Linked DNA regions of Homo sapiens: all the other regions are linked to region 1. The links are contacts of gene promoters, found by promoter capture Hi-C in blood cells and fetal thymus (Javierre and others, 2016). All regions are on one chromosome and are shown on one strand. Each heading gives the region's core, a stretch centred on a gene start or on the middle of the fragment in contact. The rest is flanking DNA. Distances are from core to core; before and after follow the strand shown. Region 1 holds the start of LAP3 (leucine aminopeptidase 3). Region 2 overlaps CPEB2 (cytoplasmic polyadenylation element binding protein 2). Region 3 overlaps CPEB2-DT (CPEB2 divergent transcript).

Region 1 (3,063 bases), core at 564-3,063:
TGGATCACTTGAGGTCAGTACTTCAAGACCCACCTGGCCAACATGGTGAAACTCCATCTCTACTGAAAATACAAAAATTAGCCAGGCGTGTTGGCGGGCGCCTGTAATCCCAACTACTTGGGAGGCTGAGGCAGGAGAATCGCTGGAACCCAGGGGTGGAGGTTGCAATAAGCTGAGATCACACCAGTGCACTCCAGCCTGGGTGACAGAGCAAGACTCCGTTAAAAAAAAAAAAGTAAAAAATAAGGAATTAAAAAAAACAAAACGCTTTACAGAAAATAAAAATATATAAAAATATTGAGCACTACTTGAAAACTTTCTATTGAAACCATCCCCACTGTGTTGACAAAAATTTCATGCCAAGTTCTAGGCAGAAATATAGTTATAATTAAGCATTAATCAGGCTGTACTTTGGCCCACTTCCTTGTTGCTAAAAGTCACCTAGCACTACATACTGACCATTTGCATTCCCATTGTTCCTATAGACAGGATCTCTGACATTAGAATCATAAGCTTTCTGTTTAAGGATCGCTTAAGATATTTTTCAGACCTTGAATTCCAGCTACCAGTTTGAAGATCCCCAGAGAGGAATGGGGTCAGCTTAAGAATACAGGTTCTTCAACGCCCTGTCCCATGACTTCACCCTGCACTCTTCAATCAACGATCTCCACACTATAGCCCTCTCCAAAACCCTTAAAAACCTTGACCCCAAATTCCTCAGGGAGATGGATTTGAGGTTTCCTCCCATCTCCTCCTTTGGCGACTCCACGATTACACCTCTTTCTCTGCTGCAACCCTGGTGTCTGGGCGTATTGACTTGCTATGTGCACGAGTCAACGAACCTAATAGTGTTACATCATTTTCAAAAACAGTATTTACACCGTTGCACCTGTGGAACAGATGAAAGGACACGAATAAAAATAACTCAGGCCAGGTGCGGTGGCTCACGCCTGTAATCCCAGCACTTAGCGAGGCCGAGGCAAGTGGATCACGAGGTCAGGACTTCGAGACCAGCCTGGACAACATGGTGAAACCTCGTCTCTACTAAAAATACAAAGAGTTGCCGGGCACGGTGGCTCACGCCTGTAAGTAATCCCAGCACTTTGGCAGGCTGAGGCGGGTGTATCACCAGAGGTCAGGAGTTCAAAGCCAGCCTGGCTAACATGGCCAAACACTGTCTCTACTAAAAATACAAAGATTAGCCAGGTGTGGTGGTGGGCGCCTGTAGTCCCAACTACTCGGGAGGCTGAGGCAGGAGAATCTGTTGAACCCGAAAGGCGGAGGTTGCAGTGAGCCGAGATTGCGCCACTGCACTCCAGCCAGGGCTACAAGAGCGAGACTCCGCCTCAAAAAAAAAATCCAAAAAAACAACAAAAAAACACAAAGATTAGCTGGGCGTGGTGGCGGGCGCCCCTAATCCCAGCTACTCGGGAGGACGAGGCAGGAGAATCGTTTCAACTAAGCAGCGGGAGGTTGCAGTGAGCCGAGATCGCTCCATTGCACTCCAACCTGGGTGACAGAGCGAGACTCCGACTCAAAAAAACCAAACAAACAAACGAAAACTCAGTGGGAGTGTCTTCACTATGCAGTCGTCTATTCAGCAACCTTGACAACAAGCTCTGGCACTCAGTTTCTATTTCCCGGGAGTTGCCCAGCGCTCCGCCCACGCCCGCTTGCAGAACTCGCCCCGCCTCCGCCCCACCCATCGTGTGACGTCACCATATCGGTCCCGCCCCTCTACTTCGCGTTGCTCCCGGGACTGTCAACCGCGTCCGGAAGCCCCGCCTTTTCGCCCCCGCCCGCATGCGCGGGCGCACACGAATGCGGGCGCACACGAATGCGGGCGCACACGAATGCGGGCGCACCCTTGAGTCCCCTCCACAACCGCGGTTTGATCCCAGCGGTCCAGTCGGCCGGTGCTGCCCATCCGTCCCGCCCCCTAGACGCACGTCCGCTCGCCCGGCGCCCGAGCCAGTCCGCGCGCACGCCGTCTGCGCCCCGAAAGCCCCGCCCCAAGGCGCGCCCGCCCACCGCTCTCCACGTGCTCGCTGGAGGGCGGTGCGAGGGGCCGAGCCGACAAGATGTTCTTGCTGCCTCTTCCGGCTGCGGGGCGAGTAGTCGTCCGACGTCTGGCCGTGAGACGTTTCGGGAGCCGGAGTCTCTCCACCGCAGACATGACGAAGGTGAGAGGCGGCGGCTCGCTCATGGTCCGCCGCTGGGGCCCTGCCCGTGGGCTACTGGGGCTGCGGGGCTGGTCGAAGCCGCGGTGTCCTGGGCGCCCAAGCCAAGTTGCAAAAATCAGTTTAAAAGAAAAATTCTCTCCTTGCGGGGATCGGCCTAGGCCGCTGAGGACCCCAGCGGTCGTATTGAGGGCGCGATTCCCCTGCTCGGGGCTAGGGGGTGATGGTTGTAGCCGCCCTTTACCCGGCTCCACTCGGCCGCGCACTTGCTCCAGTCGTCACCCGCGGTCCTGGCAGTAACCCGGGGAAAGACGCGGCGGTGGGGCTCCCATCCGAGCTTGGAGGAAGCCCGAGTTTGCCAAGGTGAAAGGGTTTCTGAGGTCCCAGAGTCACAGGGCTCCTTCCCCCGCGGAAGTGAAAGGTCAGGGAGTTAAGTAGCTTGGAAGGGTTTCTAGAGGAAAAGCATGCCTCTCTAGAGAAAAGGGCTTTGGGGAGAGACCCACGTTTCCCAGAATTAAGAGCATCTTCCAGAAGAAAAGTGAACTCCAAAAAATTACGAAGGTCGCTCTTCAGATGTGAAGGATCTGCAAAGGGAATGGCTCTCGGAACCAGCACAAGCTTGGGAGTCATGCCTAAGCACCAGAAAGAGATGACTGTCCCTGCAGAAGAACGTTCTAGGGGGAGCTTGAGCTCCAGTCTCCTGCAGGTATCTCAGTGGTGGAGGGACCAGTCGCCTGACCAGTGCTATCTCCAGTACTGTGCCACAGCCTACCCAGATAACAGTTGCTCAGTTGGCTCCATTGATTCCCGGGGAGTGAACAATCTTAGGGAAGTTAGAACCTGGCAGAGTTACCAATGCCAAGGAAGGCCGTTTTCTTTGGTG
Region 2 (2,700 bases), core at 81-2,580, 2.6 Mb before region 1:
CATAATCTTTATGACATTGAATGACATAGTTTATAGGTTTTCATCTCTTTGGGTCACAGTTTCCTTATCTGTAAAAGGGGGACCTTGAACTGGGTCATTTAAGGCCTTTCCAGCCAGCTTTTAACACTTTCTCTGATCTGTTTTGGCCATTTCTTTTCCTCCATGCTGCCCCACCCCCCTTGCCTCTATTTTTAGAATACAAGCCTCTTGGTTTCTTTGAGCAAAGGGTCTTAGGCATTAGTCTAAGGCAGTGGAGGTAGTATGTGACCTTTCAACTGGACTTAAAAGCAGTGTCATTGTCTCCTCTAAGTACCCTAAGAGTACTTACACATAGTTTGTTGTGTGTTTCCATCTTTCCATAAAAGGTTGAAGTATTTGAAGTTGAGCCTCTTAAAAATACAGCAGCAGCTACAAAATGAAATTGATATCTTAAAATGTTGGGTAGTTTCTCATTCTTTGGCAAAATTAAAATTATAGAAGATTCTTAGTCACTTAAATGTCTGAGGAGATTATCTGCATTTCTGACCTTTTATCATCATATACAGTGTAATTCTAGTATATTTTTGTTAACAAGTACATTATTTTACAACATTTTACTTTTTATTTCCTTTAGTCTCAAACTGATTGGGGCCTAGAATATAATACAAAATTCTAGAACTGAAGTCTTAATTCTTATACTTGGATACCGCGGGCTTTACCTGTGTCAAGAGCTGAACACGTAATCGAATTCAATAAATAAGAAAGAGCTAGTTTTGTAGGTTGATTTTTATTTCTGTTAATATGTAAAATTTTGTGGGTTGGAATTTTATTTTAAATAAGATTTTTTAAAAATAGAAAACCCTCAAATTTAAAACTTTCTAAAAGCAAATATAAATTATTATAAACATTTCTGACTTTAAAATGAGTATTACATACATATCTCTATGAATTTCTTTTCTTTTTTTTTTTTTTTTTTTGAGACAGTTTCACTCTGTCACTCAGGCTGAAGTGCAGTGGCACGATCTCGTCTCACTGCAACCTCTGCCTCCCGGGTTCAAGCGATTCTCATGCCTCAGCCTCCCCAGTAGCTGTGATTACATGCATGCACCACCATACCCGCCTAATTTTTATATTATTAGCAGAGACAGGGTTTCACCATGTTGGCCAGGCTGGTCTCAAACTCCTGATCTCATGTAATCCGCCCGCCTCGGCCTCCAGAGTGCTGGGATTACAGGCTTGAGCCATCATGCCTGGCCAGTATATCTACATGAATTTGCTTAGGGTTATTAATTACTGTACTTTAAAATGTCATTAGCTAGTTACCCTTGCGAGAATCGTACTCAAAAGTTTGAATTCTAAATTATATTACAATGGAATTTGCAGCCAGATCCAGCAATGTGCACTACTTGGAAGGCTGAGGCAGGAGGATTGAATGCCTGAGCCCCAGAGTTGAGTCCAGCCTCGGCAACATAACAAGACACCACCCCCTCTTCCCAAAAAAATAGGAGTTTTCAGTTTAATGTTAAGGTTACGCTATATTTATTCATATGTTTTAAATCAAAGAGTAAATATCCTTTAAGTGAGGTTATTATTACTTACAAGTTTACATATGACATATCAGCTCACTGTAAACAAAGTAATGTCTTGGAACAGTAATTGAGTGTGTGAAGCATGTACGTGCATGTCCGCCTGCCTTCCACCTGGGGAATTATCAATATATCAACTCTCAATTTTTGCTCTTCCACAAGCTCTACTTGCAGTGCTTGAGCATGTCACATAATAAACTACCTTGAATTAATTGAAGATACTTTCCATTAATCTTTAATAGGCTGTTATGATAATGTGGTAAATCATAATTTGGAGATCTGTCTCAGAAAAAATATTATTTGAATCTTTACTCACCTTACACACAAAAAAACAGTATATAGTTGCATACCAAACCCAATTTGTTTATCTGATAAAGCATTTCTTAAATAGTGGTTTGTAAACCAGATGAACTTCAGGGACATTCATAGTCATCAAACTGTTACATGCCCACTGAAAATGGAAAAGAATGGACTCTTGTATTACAGCTTAAGTAATGGATGCCTTCTTTTTGTTTCCTATTCTGTGTTCAGTGCTTTAATTGTTCTTGAAATGTTTTCCACTTGTCTATTTTAATTCTTGTGAGTACTAGAATAGCTTTGGCCTTTTAAAACATTTGTTTATTTTTTTTCTGAGAATGGCTAACACACTTTATTGAGGTTCGAAATTAATAAAGAAAATAAAAGAAATGTATCTTCATTCATTCTGTATGTTAGTGTTTTAATTACCCTTAGAATATATGGATAAAAAATACTATTCTTTGTCTTGGAGAAGGTAAGAGTCTAGTTAGATGAATAAGGGTTATCTATGTAGAACAACTAGAGAATGAGAAGAGAGCTTATGAGATTGAGTACTACGTTATGCAGTAGAGTAGCACGTCATCTGCTACTGAGTATGGTGTGATAACATTGTGTAACAGGAAAGTATGATCAATATCTACTTAAAATTAAGGACAATATTAGCACTACATTGCTTTATTTTAAAGTAAAAATTAGAGAACTAAACACAAGCATTGTAAGTACAATAAAAGCTGATCTTTCTAGTTAAGCAGAATAATACATGTTCAAGCATCTGCTAAATCATTAAATATAAGAATATAGGGGTTTTCTATAATCTTATTTTTCTTTGGAAGAGTAC
Region 3 (2,700 bases), core at 6-2,505, 2.6 Mb before region 1:
CTACCTCTTTCCTTCCTTCCATCTCCCTCCTTCCTTTCCTTACCTTGTTTTCTCCTTTTCTTCATCTTTTCTTCTTACAGCATTCATTGGGCAATTACTAATCAACAAATACTTATTGGGCACTTGTGTTCCAGGAATGTGAAAGGCAAGGGAATGCGGAGATACATGAAGGAATTACATTTGAGTAACGTTTCTGCAGTATAATTGACAGAGCATGGTTGACAATTGTTTTTGGAGGGTGAGAGAGATGAAGGAAGAGGATGACTCATGTTTCAGCTTGAGAAACTGGTTGTGTGATGATGACGTCAGCCAAGACAAGAAGCAAAATAGGAGAAGCAGATTTTGGGGAAGATGTTGAATGCAGGTATAGACACATTGAATTGATGTGGCTGAAGGACACCCAGGTCAAACTGTTAAACAGGCAGTTGGAAATATGATTTTGACCATGAGGCTAAAGAGATGGATTTGGAAGACATTAGCATTTAGATGATGTTTGAAAACATGATAATAAATTCATCTAGAAAAAGTAGGTAGAAATATAGAAAAGGACCAGAAACATAAGCCTAAGGAACTCTCACACGTAAAGAATATGTAAGGAGAAAGTGAAGGAGGAAATTATGAAGGAAGGTTTAGAAAAGTAGGAGAACTAGAAGTAATTGAGGATGGTACTACTCTTGAGTGCCACATCAATAAAGCACCTTGAAGTTGGTCAAGGTCAGAATGAATCTTAATTTCTACTTTCTCCTTTTCCAACTCCAAACCAGAGCTAATTAGCTCCCATCTAAAGACTCAAAGCTTTCCCATTCTGTGGGGTTAATTACATTTATGGGCATGGGCTCTGCCACAGAAAGAAACCAGCAGCATGGAAGTAAGGCATCCAGTTGACCTTAACTGCAGTGCCTCCTGAACTGGTTCCATTTCTATGAGATGGGGTCTTGACTCCTCTCTTTGTTCAAGCTCCTGTAATGAACCCCTGTGTTCCTGGAGTCCCAACTCTAGTCTCCTGAGACAGAAGTTTTCCCCCTTGTACTCCAGGGTTATCTATTCCCCAGCGTTATAGTCTTGGGATGACTTACCTGTCTTCATGTACTTATCCTATATCTGACAATGCCTGGAATTATTTTTGGCTAGTTTAAGAATCCTAGGAGCATCTGCATGGTGTTTGGACAGCTCCTGAAAACAAATTAACCATTTATAAACAGACCCTTGTATTACTATTGTATTCTTTTAGCTATCATTTCCTAAAATTGCTATTTATTAATTCAACAACCCCTTTAATAAGTGCATGCAATTCCCAACTCTTGAAAGCCTACTATGTGCAAGGCATCGTTGTAAGTGCTGAGGATACAACAGTGAGCAAAACAGGCATGGACCTTTCCTCATGGGCTTGTGATCTCAGAGAGAGGACAGATAAACAGTTCAAGTACATAGTGGGTCAGATGGAAACACAAACACCTTATGAGGAATAAGAAGGCTGGGAAAGAGTGGCGGCGGGGGGTTGTCATTTTATTACAATGGTGGTCAGGGAAGACATCACTGAAAAATGACTTTTAGCAGAGACGTGAGAGAGACATGAAAAAAAATGATAAAAACATGATTAAGTGAGCCCTGTTGCTACTTAGGAGACAAGTATTCCAGGTGTGGGAATTGCGAGGGCAAAGGCCCTAAGGCTGAATTGGCCTGGGCTGTTACAGAAATAAGCATTCCACTGTAGGGAAGCTTTCAGAGGGGTTAGTGGTGGCAGGAGCGATTCTGAAGAACCTTTTGGTTATTAAAATGTTTTGACTTCTATTCTGAGAAAATGTAAGTATTTAGTCAGAGGAGTTGACATGACCTGTCTTCCACTTCAGAAGTATCATCCTGGCTGCTATGTTGGGAACAGACTGGAGAGGGGCAAGATCAGAAGCTGGAATACGAGTTAGTAGGTGAGAGCAACGATGTAGCCTGGTCCAGGCTGCTTGTGGTGAGAATGGGGTGAAGTGCTTGGATTCTGGATATATAGGCACTCCTCGCTTTATTGTGCTCTGCTATATTGTGCTTCTCAGATAATGGGTTTTTCACAAATTGAAGGTTGGTGGCAACCCTGCATCAAGCAAGTCTATCAGCACAATTTTCCCAACAGCATGGCTCAATTTGTATCTCTGTGTTACATTTTGGTAATTCTTGCGTTACTTAAAGCTTTGTCATTATTATTATATCTATTTTGGGGATCTGTGATCATAATATTTAATGTTACTAGTGTAACTGTTTTGGGACATCACAAACCACAACCATATAAGACAATAATTTAATCAATAAAGGCTTTGGGCTTCCCTATTCCCTGAGACAAAACAATATTGAAATTAGGCCAATTAATAACACTCTAACGACCTCTAAGTATTCAAGTGAAAGGAAGAGGTACATGTCTCTCACTTTAAATGAAAAGCTAGAAATAATTAGGCTTAGTGAGGAAGGTATGTGGAAAGCTGAAATAGGTTGAAAGCTAGGCCTCTTGCACCAAGTAGTTAGTCAAGTTCTGAATGCAAAGGAAAAGTTCTTGAAGGAAATTAAAAGTACTATTCCAGTGAACACGAGTGATAAGAAAGTGAAACAGCTTTATTGCTGATATAGAAAAAGTGTGAATGGTCTGGATAGAGAAAATTAAACCAGCCACAACATTCCCTTAAGCTGAAGCCTACTCCAGAGCAAGGCCCTAACTCT

What was found. Contacts are between HindIII fragments. The CHiCAGO score rates a contact against its expected background, and 5 or more counts as called.
Region 2: a contact is called between a fragment that was not itself captured here and the fragment with the promoter of LAP3 in region 1, in 1 of 17 cell types (non-activated CD4 T cells). The highest score is 6.4, in non-activated CD4 T cells.
Region 3: a fragment that was not itself captured here is called in contact with the fragment with the promoter of LAP3 in region 1 in 1 of 17 cell types (naive CD8 T cells); the score reaches 6.1 in naive CD8 T cells.

Annotation. Positions count from the first base shown.
Region 1 is chr4:17,575,385-17,578,447 of GRCh38, forward strand. It overlaps LAP3 (leucine aminopeptidase 3), which reads left to right and starts at 1,814. Exons shown (of 13, transcript NM_015907.3): 1 at 1,814-2,183. The coding sequence starts at 2,082. RefSeq lists enhancers at 1,462-1,821, 2,162-2,361 and a silencer at 1,882-2,091. The HindIII fragment of the contact is 2,285 bases long and covers 512-2,796 here.
Region 2 is chr4:15,010,165-15,012,864 of GRCh38, forward strand. The region is part of intron 3 of CPEB2 (cytoplasmic polyadenylation element binding protein 2); the gene reads left to right. It overlaps C1QTNF7-AS1 (C1QTNF7 antisense RNA 1), which reads right to left. Exons shown (of 6, transcript NR_125911.1): 4 at 329-408. Among named protein-coding and RNA genes, the nearest start is that of CPEB2, 9.0 kb to the left of the region's middle. The HindIII fragment of the contact is 3,258 bases long and covers 1-2,700 here.
Region 3 is chr4:14,994,178-14,996,877 of GRCh38, forward strand. It overlaps CPEB2-DT (CPEB2 divergent transcript), which reads right to left. Exons shown (of 8, transcript NR_038857.1): 4 at 1,077-1,173. Among named protein-coding and RNA genes, the nearest start is that of CPEB2-DT, 6.5 kb to the right of the region's middle. The HindIII fragment of the contact is 924 bases long and covers 794-1,717 here.